3 separate regions of the Homo sapiens genome follow, and all the other regions are linked to region 3. The links are contacts of gene promoters, found by promoter capture Hi-C in blood cells and fetal thymus (Javierre and others, 2016). All regions are on one chromosome and are shown on one strand. Each heading gives the region's core, a stretch centred on a gene start or on the middle of the fragment in contact. The rest is flanking DNA. Distances are from core to core; before and after follow the strand shown.

Region 1 (2,740 bases), core at 11-2,510, 160 kb after region 3:
GGTTTAGCAGGTGTCAGTGCCATTTGCAGACCCAGGAGTCAAAACCTGGTAACTTAGCAGCACAAGGATTAATTAATAGGATGTTTTCCAAAGACGTTTAAAGCCTCAAAACATTTGATCAAAACAGAATTACAGGTCATTGTAAAATAATAATTATTCATTTAACCAAAGTTAAAAAGACTTCCAAAACAATATAAAAATAAAGTTACAATATACGAGCACTCTACCTATAATATGCAGATAGACTACTTTGGTGTAAAATAAGTTTCTATCTTCAATATAGATGATCAAGTATAGTATATGCATTTAAGATAAGAACAGAAGCCAAAGCTTAATGAAATGTTTACAGACATATATAAGAACATCTAGAAATTTGTGGTTCAGTTTACTAATACTGCAGAAAGTCCCATAATTCTAACATGACTCTAGATGTCATGTAGAGTGACTAACATGTAGAGTCACTAACATGACTCTAACATGTCACAAATTAAAACACTGTCATTTGGTGTCTAGTAGTTGCCACCTGCTGCACTTCAAACCACTGTATTAAAGTGGTTAGGTTACTACTTCCATATGTCTAATTGCTGGCATTCTAGTGACGCAATTGTGACCAAAAGCATCAAAAATATGACAAGTCCTGTGACAAACTTATCAATGTGCAACAGTTATCATTTTTTCCATCATTAAAAAAATGGTAAAAGCAAATATCAGTTTTGGAAATTCAGTATGAAGATAAATAATCTCCTTCCACTTAAATACTATATAACAAAACAGGGACAAACTAAGAACAAGCACACAATAATTTGTTTTCAGCTATTTAAAAGAGTATCATCACTTCCAGGGCTGGTTTCTAGTGCAGCACTAACAAGTGATTAGGTGACATTCACCACTAGAATCATCAAACCAGGACATCACTTATACATATTTTGTTTTTGTTTTCAACTACACACACTAACAGTGATAAAAACCTTGAGATTAAAAATCACTAGAAAGTCTCATATTTTTAATTACTACTTAATCAAAGTGAGTATCACTTGATTTTAATAATGTTACTAAACACAACTAAAATAATTTGAGTGAAATTTGTTAATATAATTTCCTTAAGAACAAGGCCAATCTTTCCTAAACATTAAAACTTTGTATCCGTATCACAGTCTTTCCGTATTATCTAAAGAAAAAGATCTGAAACTAACTCAAATTATTGATTGAACTGAACTACCTGAAATAAGCACCATTTAAACAATTTTATTCTCAGCTACTTTCTTAAATAACAAAATAATGTACTATTTCTGTTTAGAATTTATAAAAATAAGTCAAGTCTTTTAATTTTGGCCAGAAAACTTAAACTCTTAAAGCTCTCTAGATCATTATAGGTAAGCAAAACCAATTCAGTTTTAAATGGCTAGTGTGCTCTTTTTTTTTTTTTTGGAGACTTGACAAAGGTAGCTTAGGAATTTTAGATAAATAGAACAAATGATGAACTGTTAGAAATGCACAGGAAACAAAATGACTACTATATATATAGAACCAAATACAAGCCTTCTGTTAGAAACTAAAAATACCAATAATTTTATATATATAATTTATATATTTATTTATTTGCTATTTGTTATATATTTATTTGCTATCTGTTCTCCTTTGGGTTTTACATATATATGTATAGATATGCTTATATATTTATGCTTCTATTTATTTATATATGCATATAATATATATGTATATATACATATATATAAACCCAAAAAAGTACAAATAGCAAATAAATGAAAAATGAAAGCAAAAACAAACAAAAAACCAACCCCAAATTTTTTTCTATTCAGTTTACCTTAGAGGCTACAGTGTTACAGAGAGCTAAAACACACACACACACACACACACACACACACACACACACACAATAAATATGTTGTTTTTGATACACAAATTAATGTCTTTACGTCCACCAATACCACTATACATTTTGTGTATTTGAGAAATTTACTTTAGGCACTTGGCAAGTAAGGACTTTAGTGCTAGTACCACCAATGCAGAATAGCAAACACAGTGTGAAATCAACCAACAGAAGCATTTATGTGAAAATTGACTCCCTGCTAAATCTAGCTTCATGCTTAACTATATTTAAAAAAAGATTTGCCAAAATGCCAATGTATTTCTTTACAATATTTCTTATCTTACCTTTATCAAGACTAAGAAGCTTTAACTATGAGCAATGTTAATTAGCCTAATTTCTCCAATTTCCTATCAGGTTTTTACTTTTTCATCTTTCTATTTTCTCTGTATGTGCCTGAAGACAGACATACACAGAAACAGGAGAAAAACTACATATGACTTACACAGACAATGTATGACATGCTTGAATTTTCTGCTTGGTCTTAAATTCTCTCGTGTTAAAAAAAACAGTCATTTTATTTTAGGACAAAAATTTACCATAGTCCATAATTTGAATCAACCTTTAGATAAATTCTGAATTAGACAAAATTATTCTTTTTTCATAAGGACAGAAATTCTCTGGCACATTTTATATACAGAATTATATGTTAACTACAGTTCTTATTCTTAGTAACCTTAAATTTTAGTGAAAATCACTAGGAAGTAAGAAATCCTGAACTATCAGATATTAGTATTTTATATTTGAGAACATTCTACAGTTTTTAAAAATACTTTTGTCTATATCAAAACCTTTTTTAAATGAAAATGACCAGACATCCAAAATAATTTGGATGACTCATCATCAAAATAA
Region 2 (2,700 bases), core at 163-2,662, 190 kb after region 3:
CCAGTAGAATGCATTCATTAGATAAAGTTAACTGTAGTATTAACATAACTTGATACAAAATAGCAGTCTTTGTACAACATAAATGGTGAAAGGAACTGGATGAGTTTATACCAAAGGAAAGTCCTTAATTCTTTTGCCACAGCCAAGACTTTCTCCTTTCCTAATGAATGATTCGGATTTCTACACCCTACCCATTCTGTAGGTACACAGTAAATCAGTTGAACCATGTACTATATAGTTAACTCGGCCTATTCAGGTGATCATAAAGAAAAAAGGAAAAGCTTGTTTCTTGAGAAGTTCCATCCTTCTAAATTTACTTCCTCACTAATGAACAGAGGTCACCTATCTACTACAATACAGTAAACAGAAGTGATTTCATTTGTGCCATGAGAATGTGTCCTGCTTCAGCTGCTTACAAGCAAATAATAACACTAAATGTTTGTTTTGTCTAGACAACACATTAAATTCAAAACATGGCTTCAAATAAAATAAAACATGAAATATATAAGCATTTGTAACTAACTGGAAGAAGAAAGTTACTGTGACTTACCAAAGATTTAAGTTAGAGCATGTATCACTAATACTGAAAAATCATATTATAAATGTATGTTTTGAACTAGTCTTACCTAATTTTGAAGACTGTCAAGTTTTTTTTATTAATATCACTACCCTCCAACAATCTTAAAGTATATTTTGTCTGACATTAATACAGCTATGCCAAATTTCTTTTAGTTTGCATTTGATTATTATTTTTTATCTTTTTATGCTTAAACTTTCTGTATCCCTATGCCTCAGATATCTATTTTGTATGTAGAATATAGATAATTTCATTTTTGCTTTATTTTTCAATCTGCTAATCTCTATCTTTTAACTGAGGGAGTTTGATACATTCGTTTTCATTGAGATTATTCAAACTCCTGAAAGTTTTTTGAATATCTATATATTCTGAATTTTATATTAATTGTTAACTTTTGTGTGTATTACCTATGAATTTTGATTATTATAGTAGAAGGACATTTGTACTGATAAAATTGAGAGCCAGTATTCTACGATAATGTGACTAAATAAACTCTTGAGTCATTTCTAAGAAAATTACATAATTCCAAAACAAACATTCCAAATATATTTGTAATAGCTTCATGGGCAAAAGATGAGTTTTGCTTTGACTATGTTTTCCAACAATGGTTGGTTGGTTTGTGTTAGTTTTCCGATTGCATGATGAGGTCTAGCAGGTCACACGACTGAACTTCAGTATGCACTCAATTCTTCCTCATGTATTGATTAAAGACCATAAACCTCATGTGTCAAGACACTGTATCAGCTTTACCCATAAATTTATTGGGCAGGTAATAATAACAAAAGTTAATGCATATAGCACATACTGTATGCCAGGCATTGTTCTATGTGCTTTACATTTTTTGACTCATTAATACTCCCAGCAAGTCTGTTATGCTGCCACAATGGACACCAAATGACTCCCTGTTGCATTTAATTTTCTCCGTCATCTCATCTCTACCTCTAATTGTACTTTTTTCTCTCTCCATTGTCTTTTTTCTGGCTTTAGGAATGGGTGGTGTGGTAAAGCTGAAAGAGCAATGAGTTATGAAGTCTAAGAAATGCATTTCAAATCCAATTTCTAGTATCACTTGATGGCTTGGCAACCTTGAACAAGTTCCTATTCCCCTCATCTGCAGAACAACAATAAAAATATCTATTTCATAGAGTCATTATAAGAATAAAATAATGTGTGAAAAGAGGTGTTCAATGTGTTTTATTTCTCTCCTCATCATCACATTAATAGTGTAAAGTCAACAGAATTATATAAACTTGTCATAACAGCAACATAAACTTTTGATATATAATTTCAACAAGTCATTTTCAGAGATGTCATCTCTGGCTGTCACATTATCTAAAATAAAACACACACACACAATCACACTCAACACATAAAGCCACACACAACACGTGACACAGAAAATGTATAACCACATACAATCATACTCAACACCCATACAACATGCACATACAACACATACAACATACATAGATAATAAACAATCTTCTTCTATAAACACATATACTCACATACATAATTTCATAGGCCCAAAACGTATTTTATTTCCTTTATAGGATTTATTCAGTATCTGAAATTATACAATTGACTGACTGACTTATTAAATACCAATGCTCACAGGAACAGAAACATTAATGGAAAGGGAAAGTGACACAGCTAGCTAGTATGTGCTAAAAAAAAGGCTAAGTCTGACAGGATGTGATACATTATGGAAATTTGTCTCCTCCAAATTTCGTGTTGAAATGTAGTCCTCAATGTTGGAGGTGGGGCCTGGTGGGAAGTGTTTGGATCATGGGTGCAGATTCCTCATGAATGGTTTAACACCATCCCCTTGGTGATAAGTGAGTTCTCCCTCGAATAGTTCCTGTGAGTTCTGCTTGTTTAAAAGAGCATGGCACCTCCCCCTTCCCCACATCTCTTGCTTTTGCTATGAGATGTGCCTGCTCCCCCTTTGCCTTCCACCATGATTGTAAGCTTCCTGAGACCTCACCAGGAGCAGATGCTAGTGCCATGCTTCCTGTAAAGCCTACAGAACTGTCAGCCAAATAAACTTCTTTTCTTTATAAATTATCCCGTCAGGTATTCCTTTGTAGCAACGCAAAAACTGACTAACATGGAAAATTTCT
Region 3 (2,700 bases), core at 181-2,680:
ACCAAAAACACACAGAAGCAGATATTTGTTCTAAAAATATAGATATATACATAGTATATATACATATATACCTGTATGTATGTGTCTATATATGAAAGTAATAGAAAAGGTTAATGAATGTCCAAAGTTTTAAAAGCTTGAGTTTGATGTTACATGGTTGAGTTGATGAAAATCTACAGTGGCTTATTTTAAAGGAGTACATGTCTGTATTTGAAATTGCAACCCTCAAGATTAAAGATTTAATAGAGGAATCAATTTAAATATTTTCTTATATACTACAACAGCTATGCATTTTTGCTTAACCATACCATATAACCCAACTGTAACATATGAAAATTGCATAGGAAAAAAATGTGGTCACCAGGCAAGATTTATCTTTAAAAAAAAAAAAAAAAAAAAGCTTGGGTCTAAGGGGTAATGTCCATGCAAATATTCCATGCCAAATAAGATATATACAAGACATGCTGATTTCCTGCCTTCCGCCATCCAACCGGGAACCACCACTGTCCTGTTAATCAAGCCAGTAGGGTGGGAAAATACCACTGTTTAAGAAATCTGGCTTCTATCAGCCTCTGTCATGGAGAAACAAACGAGACTGCCTCCCAGTAAGCAAAAGTGATCACATTTTCACAAATGAAAATGGTAAAAAGAAGTTTAAATTGTTAAAGAGGAAAGAATGAGGAGCCAAAGACAAAGAAAAATCAAAGCTATCAGAGTTGCTGCAGAGGTTTTACTAAACAAAGAATTTTATGAAGCAGCTGAAGTTCAGTACAAAAAGACTCCACCCTACCCAGCTTCTGCCGCGACTTTTCCTTGCTCTGAAAACTCCAGCCCACAGAACAGAGCTCCTCTAACTAAAATGCCTTTAGTGCTCCGTTTTAAGCATTCACTCTTTTCTTATTTTAAACGTCCCACTCTCACACTCAGCCAAAAGGACTTATTGTAGGCTTTCCCAGAAAAATTTAGTAGTGTACTCTCTCCAACGGTGGATCTAGAAGCTCCGGATTTACAAACATCCCAATTGTCTTTCAAGTCGTTTTCCAGGTGCAAATCCGTCAGCCCCCTTCTCAAACTTCAAACCAGAACCTCCTCTTCACGCTCTTCCTGAGGCTTAACATTCCACCTATTTCCCAAACCGTGCAATAAACACTACAAGCAAAGCAAATGGCAAACTCACCATCCTCGTCTTCTTCCTGGGCTTTTATTGAGACAAATTGCCCTAATAAAACAATAAGAATGAGGAGAGGTCTTGCTTCCGCCCAGTTTGCCATCATGTCTAAATATTAGACATGTGGGTTCTCCTGAGAGTGAAAAGTAGATTCTGAGGTTATTGTAGCACCATGAAGTCAGCTGTGGGCTCTTCTTTCAGCACCAGCCCCAGGGCAGCCTCTGCAAACCCCCTTTTTCAGCACCAGCTCCAGCACAGTCTGCGAAAACTTTTTTCAAGCGATGCAGCTTTAAATAGGAAGAATGCTGCCTCCACTTCTTTTCCTGCCCCTTTTCAGCTTGTTCAGGCTCATAACCATCCAGTGTCTGCCAAGCAACGGTCTGATTGATGGTAAACAACCAAATCAGAACACGCGTCTCTGTGCCTGAACTTTCCCTATTTCATTTAACTTTTAAGCATAGATGGGGCTTAATAACAGAAACAAACATTTGTTTCTCTTTTCTTTTATTTTTTAAGAAAGGCTGTTAGAAGAAAAGGGTTCTATTTTCCCCTCCCTAACCCTTCCCCCCAGACACACACCCTTTAACTTTTCCCCTATAAGCTGAAAAAGACATTCCGAAGGAAATCCAGCCTTTTACCCTAGTTTTTTTACATTTAGATAATTCAAGACTCTCTTCTCCACCTTAAATCTTTAAACAATCACATTTTAACCCTTTCTTTTGACTGAATAGGGAGTATTCTTATCCCCTTCTCAGATTCGGTTTCTTTTCCCATACTCTGGAAGGAGATTATTAGAATGTTGCCCAGGTAAAGTCCAGGTTAGAAAACCATTTTGGATAAATGAATTTGTGATACATTGTAATTTGAATTAAGAAAGCATGTCCTTTCCTAATTTCTCCACATCTCTTGTTAAGGGGCCACATCTTCAGGTTCCTCTTGTCCCAGAGAGTTTTACCATGTTGAAAAATAGTCTACTAAGCAGTGCAGAGGAATGGGAAGTACTCTACCTTTGGATGAAAAAAGGCTTGCTTCTGCCTTTTGTGAGTGGTTCTGCCACTCAATAATTTTGTAAATGTGCATATAGTCCTTTATCTCTGTGCACTCCAATTTTCTCATTTGAGAAAAGGGCTTTACCCTGACCAGTGTACAGGGTTTAGTGACACTAAAATGAGTAATGTATTATTAATGAAGCTCCAAATTGCAAAGAGCTACATAAAAGCAGATGGTGGTATTATTAGCTTTAAGCCAGCTTTGCAGGGAATATGATAGCCCCAGTTGAACATGCATTTTAAGGAAAATTATCGATGAACTTTTGTGCCACCCTCACACTTGCCAAGATCTTAATGACCTCAGAGAGTTCTATACAATCTAATGTATTTGCCACCTTGAGTCTCCCTAGAATCAGGATGGATGTTCTATACAATACAAGTGAGTCAATTGTTTATAATTATTGGGCAACAGGTGCCTTGCACTGTGCTAAGCACTGGGCAGAAAGGATGACATAAAAGAAATAAAAGACATACCCATCACCT

Evidence for each region. Contacts are between HindIII fragments. The CHiCAGO score rates a contact against its expected background, and 5 or more counts as called.
Region 1: a fragment that was not itself captured here is called in contact with the fragment with the promoter of COL5A2 in region 3 in 4 of 17 cell types (total CD8 T cells, naive CD8 T cells, activated CD4 T cells and 1 more); the score reaches 5.8 in total CD8 T cells.
Region 2: a contact is called between a fragment that was not itself captured here and the fragment with the promoter of COL5A2 in region 3, in 1 of 17 cell types (activated CD4 T cells). The highest score is 5.6, in activated CD4 T cells.

The regions. Positions count from the first base shown.
Region 1 is chr2:189,340,785-189,343,524 of GRCh38, forward strand. It overlaps a transcript of COL5A2 not described here. Among named protein-coding and RNA genes, the nearest start is that of WDR75, 99 kb to the right of the region's middle. The HindIII fragment of the contact is 1,864 bases long and covers 329-2,192 here.
Region 2 is chr2:189,368,621-189,371,320 of GRCh38, forward strand. It overlaps a transcript of COL5A2 not described here. Among named protein-coding and RNA genes, the nearest start is that of WDR75, 72 kb to the right of the region's middle. The HindIII fragment of the contact is 2,267 bases long and covers 280-2,546 here.
Region 3 is chr2:189,178,331-189,181,030 of GRCh38, forward strand. It overlaps COL5A2 (collagen type V alpha 2 chain), which reads right to left and starts at 1,431. Exons shown (of 54, transcript NM_000393.5): 1 at 1,178-1,431. The coding sequence starts at 1,274. The HindIII fragment of the contact is 9,698 bases long and covers 399-2,700 here.